Linked DNA regions of Homo sapiens: region 2 is linked to region 1. Evidence: promoter capture Hi-C in human tissues and cell types (Jung and others, 2019). All regions are on one chromosome and are shown on one strand. The core of a region is centred on a gene start or on the middle of the fragment in contact, and the rest is flanking DNA. Distances in the headings are between cores, read along the strand shown.

Region 1 (5,926 bases), core at 3,427-5,926:
AATTCCAGGCACTCCGTAAAAGGGGCTTCTGGGCTTCCCATTTGAGAAGCCACCAAATCCTGTGGCTGTTCAGTCTCAGCTCCTACCATAGATCAAAGTGTTAGTTGCTCAAAACCCAGATGTGCAGAATCTCAACTCTTGGCCAGGTTGTCCTCACCACCTGCACCTGTAGGTGATGCTTTCTGTGTTTGGTCATTTGTTTATTGTAGTATTGCTTAGTGTTCACTTATTATTCATCATTTATTGCAGAGAACTTCTACCACTCACCTAACTTCTCATCCTGCTAATTCAGATAATAGGATCAGTAGTCACCCATGCAGCCTAGGGGAACAGAGCTTTCTCTTTCATCACCTAGCAGAAGGAAAACTTGCCCCCTCCTGGGCAGCTAGACTCCTCCAGGTTACATGGGTGCTGGAGGCCCCAGGCTTGTTCCTCAGTCCATGGTTGCTATCTGGCCCCCTCCTAGTGTGTCCTTAAAACTGTGGACTATAGAAATCAGGGAACAAAATGTTCTGTCATTTTTTTTGAGATGGGGGTTTCACTGTGTTTCACAGGCTGGAATTGAACTCCTGGATTCAAGGAATCTTCCTGACTCACTCTCCTAATTAGCTAGGATTACAGGTGCACCACCTCACCTGGCTATTCCATCATTTTCAAACATGTTGCTACATCACTGGTAAAGTCTGCTCATCTCTGCTGGTCTGAACTCCCAGACAATACGCTTTAAAAAGTAGCCTCTTTCTCCACACGCACAACAGACACAACATTTGCCTAAGGTCATCAAACATCTGGAGCAGCTGGCCAGCTACCCCCACCTGCCACTTCCTATCACTCCATACTGGACATCGCACTTGTACCTCCTCAGAAAAGCAACATACATTGGTATCTTTCCTACTGAGATTAGAGAGGTTGCTGCATCAGGACAGCTGACCCTCCCTGCAGTGCATGCCAGCATCCTGACACAAGATGACCACTGGTGGTGTCATCACATACACGGCACAGATCAGCACTTTGGCCTCCCTCCCTCACACTCCACCCACCAGCAAATTCTCACTATTTGGGTTACCTGTTTGGGAAAAGAAAGAGAGATCAGACTGTTACTGTGTCTATGTAGAAATGGAAGACATAAGAGACTCCATTTTGTAAAAGACCTGTACTTTAAATAATTGCTTTGCTGAGATGTTCTTAATTTTGTAGCTTTGCCCCAGGCACTTTGACCCAACCAGGAGCTCACAAAAACATGTGTTGTATAAAATCAAGGTTTAAGGGATCTAGGGCTGTGCAGGATGTGCCTTGTTAACAAAATGTTTACAAGCAGTATACTTGATAAAGGCCGTCGTCATTCTCTAGTCTCAATAAACCAGGGGCACAATGCACTGCGGAAGGCTGCAGGGACCTCTGCCCTTGAAAGCAGGGTATTGTCCACGGTTTCTCCCCATGTGATAGTCTGAAATATGGCCTGGTGGGATGAGAAAGACCTGACTGTCCCCCAGCCCGACACCTGTAAAGGGTCTGTGCTGAGGTGGATTAGTAAAAGAGGAAAGCCTCTTGCAGTTGAGATAGAGGAAGGCCACTATCTCCTGCCTGCCCCTGGGAACTGTATGTCTCAGTATGAAACCCGATTGTACATTTGTTCAATTCTGAGATGAGAGAAAAACTGCCCTATGGTGGGAGGCGAGACATGTTTGCAGCAATACTGCCTTGTAATTCTTTACTCCACTGAGATGTTTGGGTGGAGAGAAACATAAATCTGGCTTACGTGCATGTCCAGTCATAGTACCTTCCCTTGAACTTAATTATGACGTAGATTCTATTGCTCACATGTTTGTTGCTGACCTTCTCCTTATTATCACCCTGCCCTCCTGCTATGTTCCTTTTTGGTGAAATAATGAAGATAATAATCAATAAAAACTGAGGGAACTCAGACCGGTGCCGGTGCAGGTCCTTGGTATGCTGAGCGCCGGTCCCCTGGGCCCACTGTTGTTTCTCTATACTTTGTCTCTGTGTCTTATTTCTTTTCTCAGCCTCTCATCCCACCTGACTAGAAATACCCACAGGTGTGGAGGGGCAGGCCACCCCTTCAACCTGCATCTCCTTTCCAGTGATAAAAAAAAATGAGAGGATTTCTTGACCTTCAGCTTATCCTCTGCACAGCAGCTCTTCCTGAGTCTGGACTCCCAGCTATCCCAGGAAGGTGGGAGCCACAGAGGAGAACTAAGTCCTACCCTTTGGAGATGACCACTCTGCTCACAAACACCTGGTAAGGGACTTCCCTCTCTCTCCCTTCTCTGGGAATTTATCCCCATTCCCTGTCTAACTAGGAGCCATCCTGCGCAGCCCTGTTTGAAGACCTTCCCTCCATCACCCAGCGGTAAACACCATCCCTGGGACACCTGCTGTATCTGCTGGGATGCATGGTTTTTCTAGGTGTGCTGGATTGACAGTGGTGTGCAATGGTCACTGGGCCTTGGATAACAAGGTCCCCTGTCCTAATACTGAACATGAACACCAATGAGTAATATTGTTCCTGCTGCCGGGTCCTGCTGATGCAGCCCCAGCCACGGCTGAGACCCAGGATCCCAGCAGCTCTGGGTTGACTCTGTCTGACCCTCACCTCCACTACTCCCAGGAGAGTCCTCTGGATGCCATGCAAAGGCCCAGGGTTTCCTGGTGTTTCTCACCAAGCCTTCCACCTCACCACAAGGGCATTTGCCACAGGGTCACCTTCAGGCATGGAGGGTTGGGTTGAGAGAACAAAGGGAGCAGCTGTCTGTTCAGGGCCTCCTTCCATCCTCCCCAATCCTGGAGCCACATTCCAGCACAGGCCCACAGCATCCCAAGCTGGAGACTTTGTCACCCCACAGAGCACTGTGGTGATTAGGTCCTCTCAGTCTGTGGAGAAGGAGAACTCCCAATCCTGGCAATGAAGCAACTTGGGGGCCACTGGAAAGCCACGCTGAGCAAAGGACGAAGACACATCTGGGATTGCTCTGCAGGATTCCATTCCTGGGAATCTCAAGGGCAGGTGACAAAGGAGTCTACAGGACTGGACAGGGGCTGCCAGGGTGGGGTGGGCACGAGGATGAGCTGCAGAGGCAGGAGGACACCGTCTGGGGCAAGGCAGATGTCAGAGGTCTGGACAAAGTGGTAATACAGGTGTATGTATTTACAAAATCTTCCAGGTGGGCACATACTATTAGGCATCTTACTGTATGTAAATTCTACCTCCTTCAAGGCAATTTTTAAAATATCAGGTGGGTCTTCCAAGCAGTGCATAGAGGAAAGAAGCTGGAAGCATGGCTGCCTAGGAGAGAAGCAAGTGAGGCCTGTGGGCTCCCACATTCATCCCTTGGCTTCTGCTCCCTCTTCTGACACCCCCACTGCCTGCCAGGTGTCTCCCTGCACCTTGTGGGCCCCACCCACAGTTACCATGAGACACCAGGTCATTCCCTTCCCTGCTCACATCCCCTCCAGGAGCTTCCTCTTCCTGGAGCAGGCATGTCCCAATCCCACCTCAGGGCCTTTGCACTGGCTGTTCCCCAATGCCTGGGGCTTCTCAACCTCTCCAGTCTCATAGAGACCACCCTGACCAGGGTCCAGTGGTCTCTCTCTAGCCCCTGTTCTATTTCACTTCCAACAGAGTGAGTATAACTCCCTGATCCTAATTGTTGACCATAACCTATCATCCCCTACACACACTGTGTAGGAACGGACTGTACAGTTTCATAGCCACCTGCCACATGTGCCACGGGACACTTGAAATGGGGCCAGTCCAAAATGACTCCCAGGCTAAGTGTAAAAAATACACAGCGAATTTCAAAGATTTACAAAACCCCTCCAACAAAAAAAAAATCTCATTAATAATAGTTCCTATTAGCTGAAATAATATTGTGGCTGTATTAGGTTAGATAAATATTTTAAACATTACTTTCACCCATTTTTTCTCATCTTTTAAAATGCATCTACTACACATTTTCATATGCTCGTGGGTTCATGTCACATCTCTGTGGGCAGCAGCTCTGCAATGTCACCTCTATGGCTCATCATCCAGGTTCAGTATTCAAGCCCTAGACCTCCTGGCACGGGGAGTAGCTGGTGATAAGTTTTTTTATTGAATAATGAGTTATGAAAAGAGAACCCAGTGACCTTTTCAAAAAAGGTTAATTCCCTTGAATTTGGCAAAGAAATTCTCCATAATAGGGTGTGGACAGGGTCTTCTGGAACCTTCTGAAATAACCTCCCTGTTCCAGAGATTCAGAGACCGTGACCAAGTGCTCCTGGATGCCTCTGATATCTGAAGACCCCGGAGGCCAAGCCCTGTATTTTTCACTTTTCTGAGCAAACAGGAGGTCACATTGTTTTCATAGCCAAAGGAGAAGTGTCATCTCTGTGGAGACCTGGTGACTCAAGCTTGGGAGCACTGGGGAAGAGAGGCATGGCTCGGGGAGGCTGCAGTGAGGACAGGAGTGGGGAGGAGGGGTAGATAGAGGAGGAGGCCTGGGAGGGGCAGGGAGAACTTAGGCAGGGAGGGATCTTGTGGTTTCTGAGGAGTGAAAAGAGAGATGGAGAAAGAGGGAATGAGCAGAAAGAGGAGGAGGAGTCAGGGGCAGGTCATGGAGGGGGGTGGGGCTGAGCTGCCAAAGCAGGATAAATGCACAGCTGCCTGCTGGTCTGGGATCCCCGCCTCAGGCTCTCAACCTCCTCTCCTGCAGCTCCAGCTCTGTGCTCTGCCTCCGAGGAGACCATGGCCTGGCCCCTGTGCACCCTGCTGCTCCTGCTGGCCACCCAGGCTGTGGCCCTGGCCTGGAGCCCCCAGGAGGAGGACAGGATAATCGAGGGTGGCATCTATGATGCAGACCTCAATGATGAGCGGGTACAGCGTGCCCTTCACTTTGTCATCAGCGAGTATAACAAGGCCACTGAAGATGAGTACTACAGACGCCTGCTGCGGGTGCTACGAGCCAGGGAGCAGGTGGGTGCTGCCTCCACCTGAGGGGTCCTGAGTCCCAGCCTTGTTTGTTGCCCGATCCATAAGAGCATTCGCAGCACATCAACACTGATACATTCATGATCTAATGCTCAGATTCATTCAGCTTTCCCTGACTCTCTGCTTATGGCCTTCATGCCTAAGCATGCTCCCGGGGGATGGAGACTATGCTGACTCTGGATGGGCTTGATGCTGCTCAGGATGAGATCCAGGCCATGAGGCTCACCCTCCTCCCTGAGTCCTCTCCTCAGGGGCCACACAGGAACTTCGCTTCCTGTTCTGCAGAGCCCTACTTCACTCCCCAAGTCACACCCGTGGGTACAGCCCTTTAGGGCTAATGGCCTTCACCCTCAGGCCGGCTGACCACCCCCTACAGCCCAGGGCAGCTGAGTCCCTGCTGGGGTGGAGCACGCCTGACCCTGCCTCTATGAGTTGATGCAGAGTTAGACCTCAGCCAGATGAGGACAGCAGTTACCCAGTAGAGAGGAGGAGGTGTCAGGTCAAGAGAGAGCTTCAGAAGGGCTATTGGGCCCAGCTTTACCTGCATCCCATGGCAGAGCAGCAAATAGTGACACAGGCTTTAGAGCTCCTCCACCTTCTCTTGGAAATTCAAAGGAATCCAGACCAGCCCCATTTCTCCTCCTGCAGCTGTCAACTGGGACCCTCACCCTGCACGGGAGGTGCACTCCCTGGTGCCATGGTCCCCGCTTGCCTCCACCTCCCTTTCAAGCATGACAATAACTTGGAGTGAAGCACAGGGCATTGCAGACCATCAGGCCCGGACGCCTATTTTATACATGGGTAAACTGACACCCATGGGTAAAAAGAGTCAGTGTTCCCTTGCCCCTGAGCCACAGGTGGCAGAATTCAATGAATCCTTTTACCCAGCACAGAGAAAACAATATTTAAGAGGGGGCATGAGGCCCAGCACCCTGCCAG
Region 2 (5,926 bases), core at 2,170-4,669, 120 kb after region 1:
CAGCCCCTGACTCTAGAGGATGAGGTCTTCCATTGAGTCAGAAAGCAGTCTTGTGTTGACCTCCTATCTCATCCTGTGACTTACAATGCCTTAACCATCTGGGAATGCAGCACAGTAGGTCTCAGCCTCATTTTACCCAGCCCCTACTCCAGATGGAGTTGCTCTGGTTCAAACGCCTCTGACATGAGCAGGTGGATGGGGTGGTGGGGGACAAATGTGATGAATTTGATTTGTTAAGAGGTATTTAACTTGGCAATGGAGGTACTGGGAGCTCCACCATGCATCCTTTGGGATGTTGCCTGCTGGACTAGAGGAAGCAGCTGCAGGGCTGGGTGCTGGGCAGGGAGAAGGGACTCTCTCTAACCCCAGCCTCAGGCACCTGCCCAGAGTCAGAAAGCAGTCATCAGCCAACAAGAGGCTGTTTGACATTTCAAAGCTGCAGCTTGAACATTCTGTCCTGCTCATGATACCACTGGCTTTGTTAACATCAGTCCATCTATCCACTCTGCAGATGAAAGGGCAGATTTGCCCTTCTTAATCCACATGATTTTTACTTCCTCACATGATATTTTTATTAATTAGCTACTGACACAACTCATAATTTCATTTGATGTTTTTATACTCAACTAATGAATCACTATTTGTCTCATTATAAGACATTTAATTTATCATAGGATTTTGATTAAGTATAGCAGAAGAATAAACCAGTCTTTCCACTAAAAGGTTTGATCACTTGTAAAATTGATAGTGCATAACATCTTGATTCAAAACTCATAATTGGCCATATCATGCACATTTTTCTGGTTGTTGTCCAGTTTGGAAAAGCCTCTTTCATTTTCCTTTCATCTGCAAGCTCTAAGATTTTAATACCTCTAAATTGTCTTGTTTTAAAACTGAGGACCTTATCAAATCTTTCTGTTGACGATGGACACAAACACAGCATTTTTAAACTGTCACTGTTGTACTGAGCTTCAGAATTGTCTAAAAATGTCCTTATGTGCTATATCTATTAGCTCATTGACTGTGCAGGAGGAGTTTGTCCTGAAGCAAGCATTTCTTTGAGCTGCCTTACTGCTGGTCACAATTTTATATCTGTGTTATGTGGAGCTCCCAGACTTGGTCAGGATAAAAAGAGGTGGGAGGTCAGCCCCATCCATCAGTTCTGTGCCGCTTCACACACATATGTCCTTACTATGGGTAGTTTCACCACACAGATCTGTGCTCTACAAATGTCAAAAATTGAGAAATTCTATCTCATTCAATTACCATCAAAAATAAAAACAACTGCATGATGCAATAATTATTTTATATGCCATATTACCAAATACATTTCCAATAGAGTAAAACTTCCTTTTTTGACTAGGGTCAAAAAGAACCAAACACTCACTTGAAATTTTCCATGTTTCTGCTGGGAATCATTATCCATAGATGGGCTTCTGGCTCCACACATTGCAAACCTTTTTTCCTCTCTGCTAATCACAGGCTTCCAATGTGAGGTGCTGGGGACATTTTCTGATCAAGGTTCTACCTCTCCTCGCTGATTTAGGTAAAAACCGAGGGGGTGGTAGGGCCTTGTCTGGGGCCACTCCTACACCAGGACAGTTTGAGGCAACATGACTATGCACAGGAGTGACTGAGAACCGCGGGAATGTGTTCCCCTCACCCCAGGTTAAATGCATCCCAACTCAACGTCCTCTTAGCCAGATATCAAAATGCCTGGGTCCAACCTACACCATCCGGAGGGTGGTGAATGTGAAGAAGAAAGCCAAAGTAGAAAAAGCCAATGTTCTTAACTGACTACAGTGAAAATACCACACACTTTTTTATTGTACAAAACATCCAGCAAAGTAAAGCTGTTGCTGAGGCCCACTTGGAGCTTTTTGTGGGGTTTTTGAACAGCTCTGTACTTAAAAGTCATTAGCATCACTAAAGGTCTGGATTTTTATTAGAAGACTTTAATATTTTTGTAAGAGTGCATGGTCCCAGAGGAAATGGGAGGGAGGCAAATCCACCAGCCACAAAAGTAGGAGACATGGAGAAGAAGTGAGGGAAGGAGAAACTCATGCAGAATAAACTTGCATGGGCATTGGGAGCTGGCAAGAGGCTTTCCACTGCATGTAAAGAAAGGTCCCAATTAAAAATGGCTTGAATGCAAAGGGAGTACTCTACCTGTCATAATAAGAAGGCCCTGGGTGAGACAGGTTTTAGGAGCAGAACTCCCAGCATCTAGCTCTGCTTCCCTGGGATTCTCTCATCCTTACCTTTCTGTTTATGATGCTTCAGCCTCGAGCTGGTAGCAAGGTGTTTGCTACAGCTCCAGACATCACATCATCAACACCAACATCCAGAGGCAGAAAGATCCTAGGGAAAAGCCTCTGTTCCACCCGTCCTTCCTGAATGTGAGTAACCTCCTCCTATGCACTCCTTAGCTCATTCCTTCTCATGCCTCATAGGCCAGGTCTGGATCACAGGCCCATCCCCTACACCAATCATACATTTAATAGATGTTAATAAACCTACACTTAAAATATGTTAAGAATCTATTAATATATCATTTACAGTGTCACCAACACTCAGTGAAACCTGTGGATGACCATGGCAATGTCCTGGTAATAGCACAAACTTTGACATGATCAAAATGATGTCATCACTAGAGACTGCTCAAATAAATTATAGAGCACACACATGATGGAAGAGCGGTTAAGAATTAGATAGCAACATATGTGTTAAACTGGAAATAATTTTAATATATCTTGAATATATTATTTTATTGAAAGCAAGGTATATGTGGTGTGTTAATATAAAGCTTGTAAAAACAAAAGTAAACACGCATGTGTATGAGTGTATAGACATTTAGACACATATTTACACATGTGGATATACACATAAAAGCCTAAAATATAGGAAAGGAGACAGGCAGTCAGTCATTTGTATTTATTAACAGTGGATACCACGGAAGAGAGGTGGTAGAGTGGGTAGGGAGATGGATAATTTGGCTTTTGCTTTTTTTTATATTTAGGATCTTTATTTTCCATTTGAACATTACAAAAATGTGTGTGTGTTCTTTATACATTTTTTTTAGTGTCAGTTAGGAGTGTTTGGGTGATGAGATTATAGGTTATTTCCCCTTGGATCCTCCCTATGTCTCTATTTTTAAAACTAAAACTAACAAATACTATGGCTGAATGACCTATTGGTGTGGTTGATATGCCCACATATGCCTCACAGCTTATCAACTATGAGTTAATCGGCAGTTTATTTTCAGCATAGGGTGTTCTCACAGCTGGGTACAGTGGCTCATGAATATAATCCCAGAACTTTGGGAGACCAAGGCGGGTGGATGATTTGAGGTCGAAAGTTCAAGACCAGCTTGGCCAACATAGTAAAACTCCATCTCTACTAAACGTACAAAATTAGCTGGGCATGGTGGTGTATGCCTGTAATCCCAGCTACTTGGGAGGCTGAGGCAGGAGAATCGCTTGAACCTGGAAGGCAGAGGTTGCAGTAAGCCATGATCACACCATCGCACTGTAGCCTGGGCAAAAAGAGTGAAACTCCTTCCAAAGTGGGAAAAAAATTGTTCTCACATGCTCCCTGAGTTCTGAAAGCCACTTAGTATTTAATAAGTGTTTGCTTGTTTTTTGTGGCACTGAATGTCTTCAGATACATGCTCTGAGTTCCTGGGGAAGAGAGGATATCTTAGGTCACATTCCCTACAAAGCCTTCACCACCAGAGAAATCATCACTGCTGTGGACTCAGTGACTGCAATTAGCAGGTGGGCTCTGGCTTGGCTTTAGAGTGCTCCATTTCATCCTCTTTCATTCTCCTGTATTCTACTTTCATTGAATGTAAAGAGGAGATAGCCTGATGCCCAGTTCAGTTGAAAGTAATGGATATGTAAAGCTCAAGAAGTGAGTCTGCATTTAATTTCAGTGCAAACTCATGGCATTGCATTTACAACTCAGCATCCATACTTCAACATTAGAATAGTGTAATAGTCACTGATCTCATTAGGAGTCAGATGAGTATTGTAGAAATGGTGTGTAGGTATGTGTATGCACACTCCTGCACAAACACGCTTGTAATCTTTGGAGTACAATGGAGTTTCTACAAACTCTTTGTGGACTCTCATATTAAGAAACTTTGTTCTGAAAACCTCACCAGCCAGTCCCTACTCCCTTTCCCTTCCCCTGAGTGGAAAGTCTGAAAGCACCAGGCAATAAACTTCCTGGCCTTCCTCACCCCCCGGGGCATAGGACCCAAGTCCAGGCAGTAACATCTAAGAAGGCAGCCAGGTCATTACAAAAAAAAGAAAAAAGAAAAAAGAAAAAGAAAAAGGAAAGAAAAGAAAAGCCTGTACTGAATAGAAAAGACAGGGTCCTCGGAATGAATCCTCTCTCTCTCTCTCTCTCTCTCTCTCTCTCTCTCTCTCTCTCTCACACACACACACACACACTCTCTCTCCCACTCACTGTCCACACCCTCTTCTCACCCCCTGTGACCTCCTCCTGCTCCTACTCCTCACGTTTCAGGCAGTAGTGTGGGACAGAACGTCTCCAACTATGGTGTCTGCCTTTCACTTATGAGCCATGTTCCCAACAACAAGAGCCCAATGAATGATGGAGAAGATGGAAGGAAACCACCTGGGCCCCTGCTAAGGACCCTGCACCTACTCTGTGAACACCACCCCCATGGCCTTTGGTGAATCACCAGTGTCATCATGGGAGAGGCAGCCAGTGTTTCTCAGGACTCCTGCTATCTGCAGCCAGGACACTTCTACAAATGATGGAGCTGACACACCACTAAGTGCCAGTCCCAGAGCCAGGGTGGCAAATGAAGCTTATTGTGCAATGCGAACAAAATTTATCTGAAAATTACATGACCTGCCTTATTGTCCCCAAATTCCCTTCTACATATTTCCACAAAATTACAAGGGGTTTATGTTACCTGCCTAGCCTTCCCCATCAGGTGGATCCAAAGAAATTTGGTAAGTGAAATATTTCACCAAGTCCAATACAAATGGAAGCTTTGGTTTTCATTTTACTAAGGAGTAAAGAGGGAAAAATAGTACTAGCTGAGTAAGAGATTTTCAAGAACAGGGAACTTTCCAGATAAAACACCATTTTTCCAAATAGGTCTCAGGTCTAAATACATTTGGAGCATCCTACCCCTTGAATCCTGGGAAAAGAGACATCCAGTCTCCCAGACAAGAATTGCCCCATCCTCCAAACATTCACAGATCTAACACCCACTGTAGTTTAAAAGGCAGGATATTTGTGGTGTGGGTCCTGACTCCACCATCTCTTGGTTAGGGTTCCTGGAAACAGACTCAGATGGAAATTCAAGGGCAAGAGGCTCACTGAGGCATGTGCTAGGGAGGCAGGGGAATGGGGTGGGGCAGAGGAAGAAGTCAGGCAGGGGTGCAGCTCAGCAGAGGGGCATGAGGTGGGGCAGAGGGAAAAGTCAGGCAGGGGTGCAGGTCAGCAGAGGCCAAAGTCAGGCCCATGGAGATCTCTGCAATGGGGATGGCCTCAGAGTGGTAGCATATTAGGGCAAAAGAGTCAACATTTTGTACTCCCTTATAGACCTATTATTTAAAATAGGCAATTCCAGGAGGGACATGAACTTGGACAAAGCAGCTCCCTTTGACTCAGATCAATGCCCACAGAAGGACTCAGCTGTGAGCCATCAGTGGCCACACTCCCAGTAGCTGAGAGAATGAAGTCTCACTGGTAAAGCAGAAACTGATAGATGGAACCCTTAATGAGAGAGCTAGGGATGTCATCTCTAGGAGACTCAGTTAACTTATCTGTACAATGGGAAGAATTATAACTATGACTACATATGGTCATTTAAGAAATAAATGAAATTTTGCTCCTCTCATGAAGTTATTAGCTGGTTGCTTTGTAGTTTCTATTGCATAGT

The links. Contacts are between HindIII fragments. The study calls those that stand out against the background at their distance.
Region 2: a fragment that was not itself captured here is called in contact with the fragment with the promoter of CST2 in region 1 in 4 of the 25 tissues and cell types used here (dorsolateral prefrontal cortex, liver, mesendoderm cells and 1 more).

Annotation. Positions count from the first base shown.
Region 1 is chr20:23,825,479-23,831,404 of GRCh38, reverse strand. CST2 (cystatin SA) reads left to right here and starts at 4,676. Exons shown (of 3, transcript NM_001322.3): 1 at 4,676-4,972. The coding sequence starts at 4,745. The HindIII fragment of the contact is 9,318 bases long and covers 2,200-5,926 here.
Region 2 is chr20:23,702,796-23,708,721 of GRCh38, reverse strand. No RefSeq gene overlaps it. Among named protein-coding and RNA genes, the nearest start is that of CST4, 17 kb to the right of the region's middle. The HindIII fragment of the contact is 5,877 bases long and covers 481-5,926 here.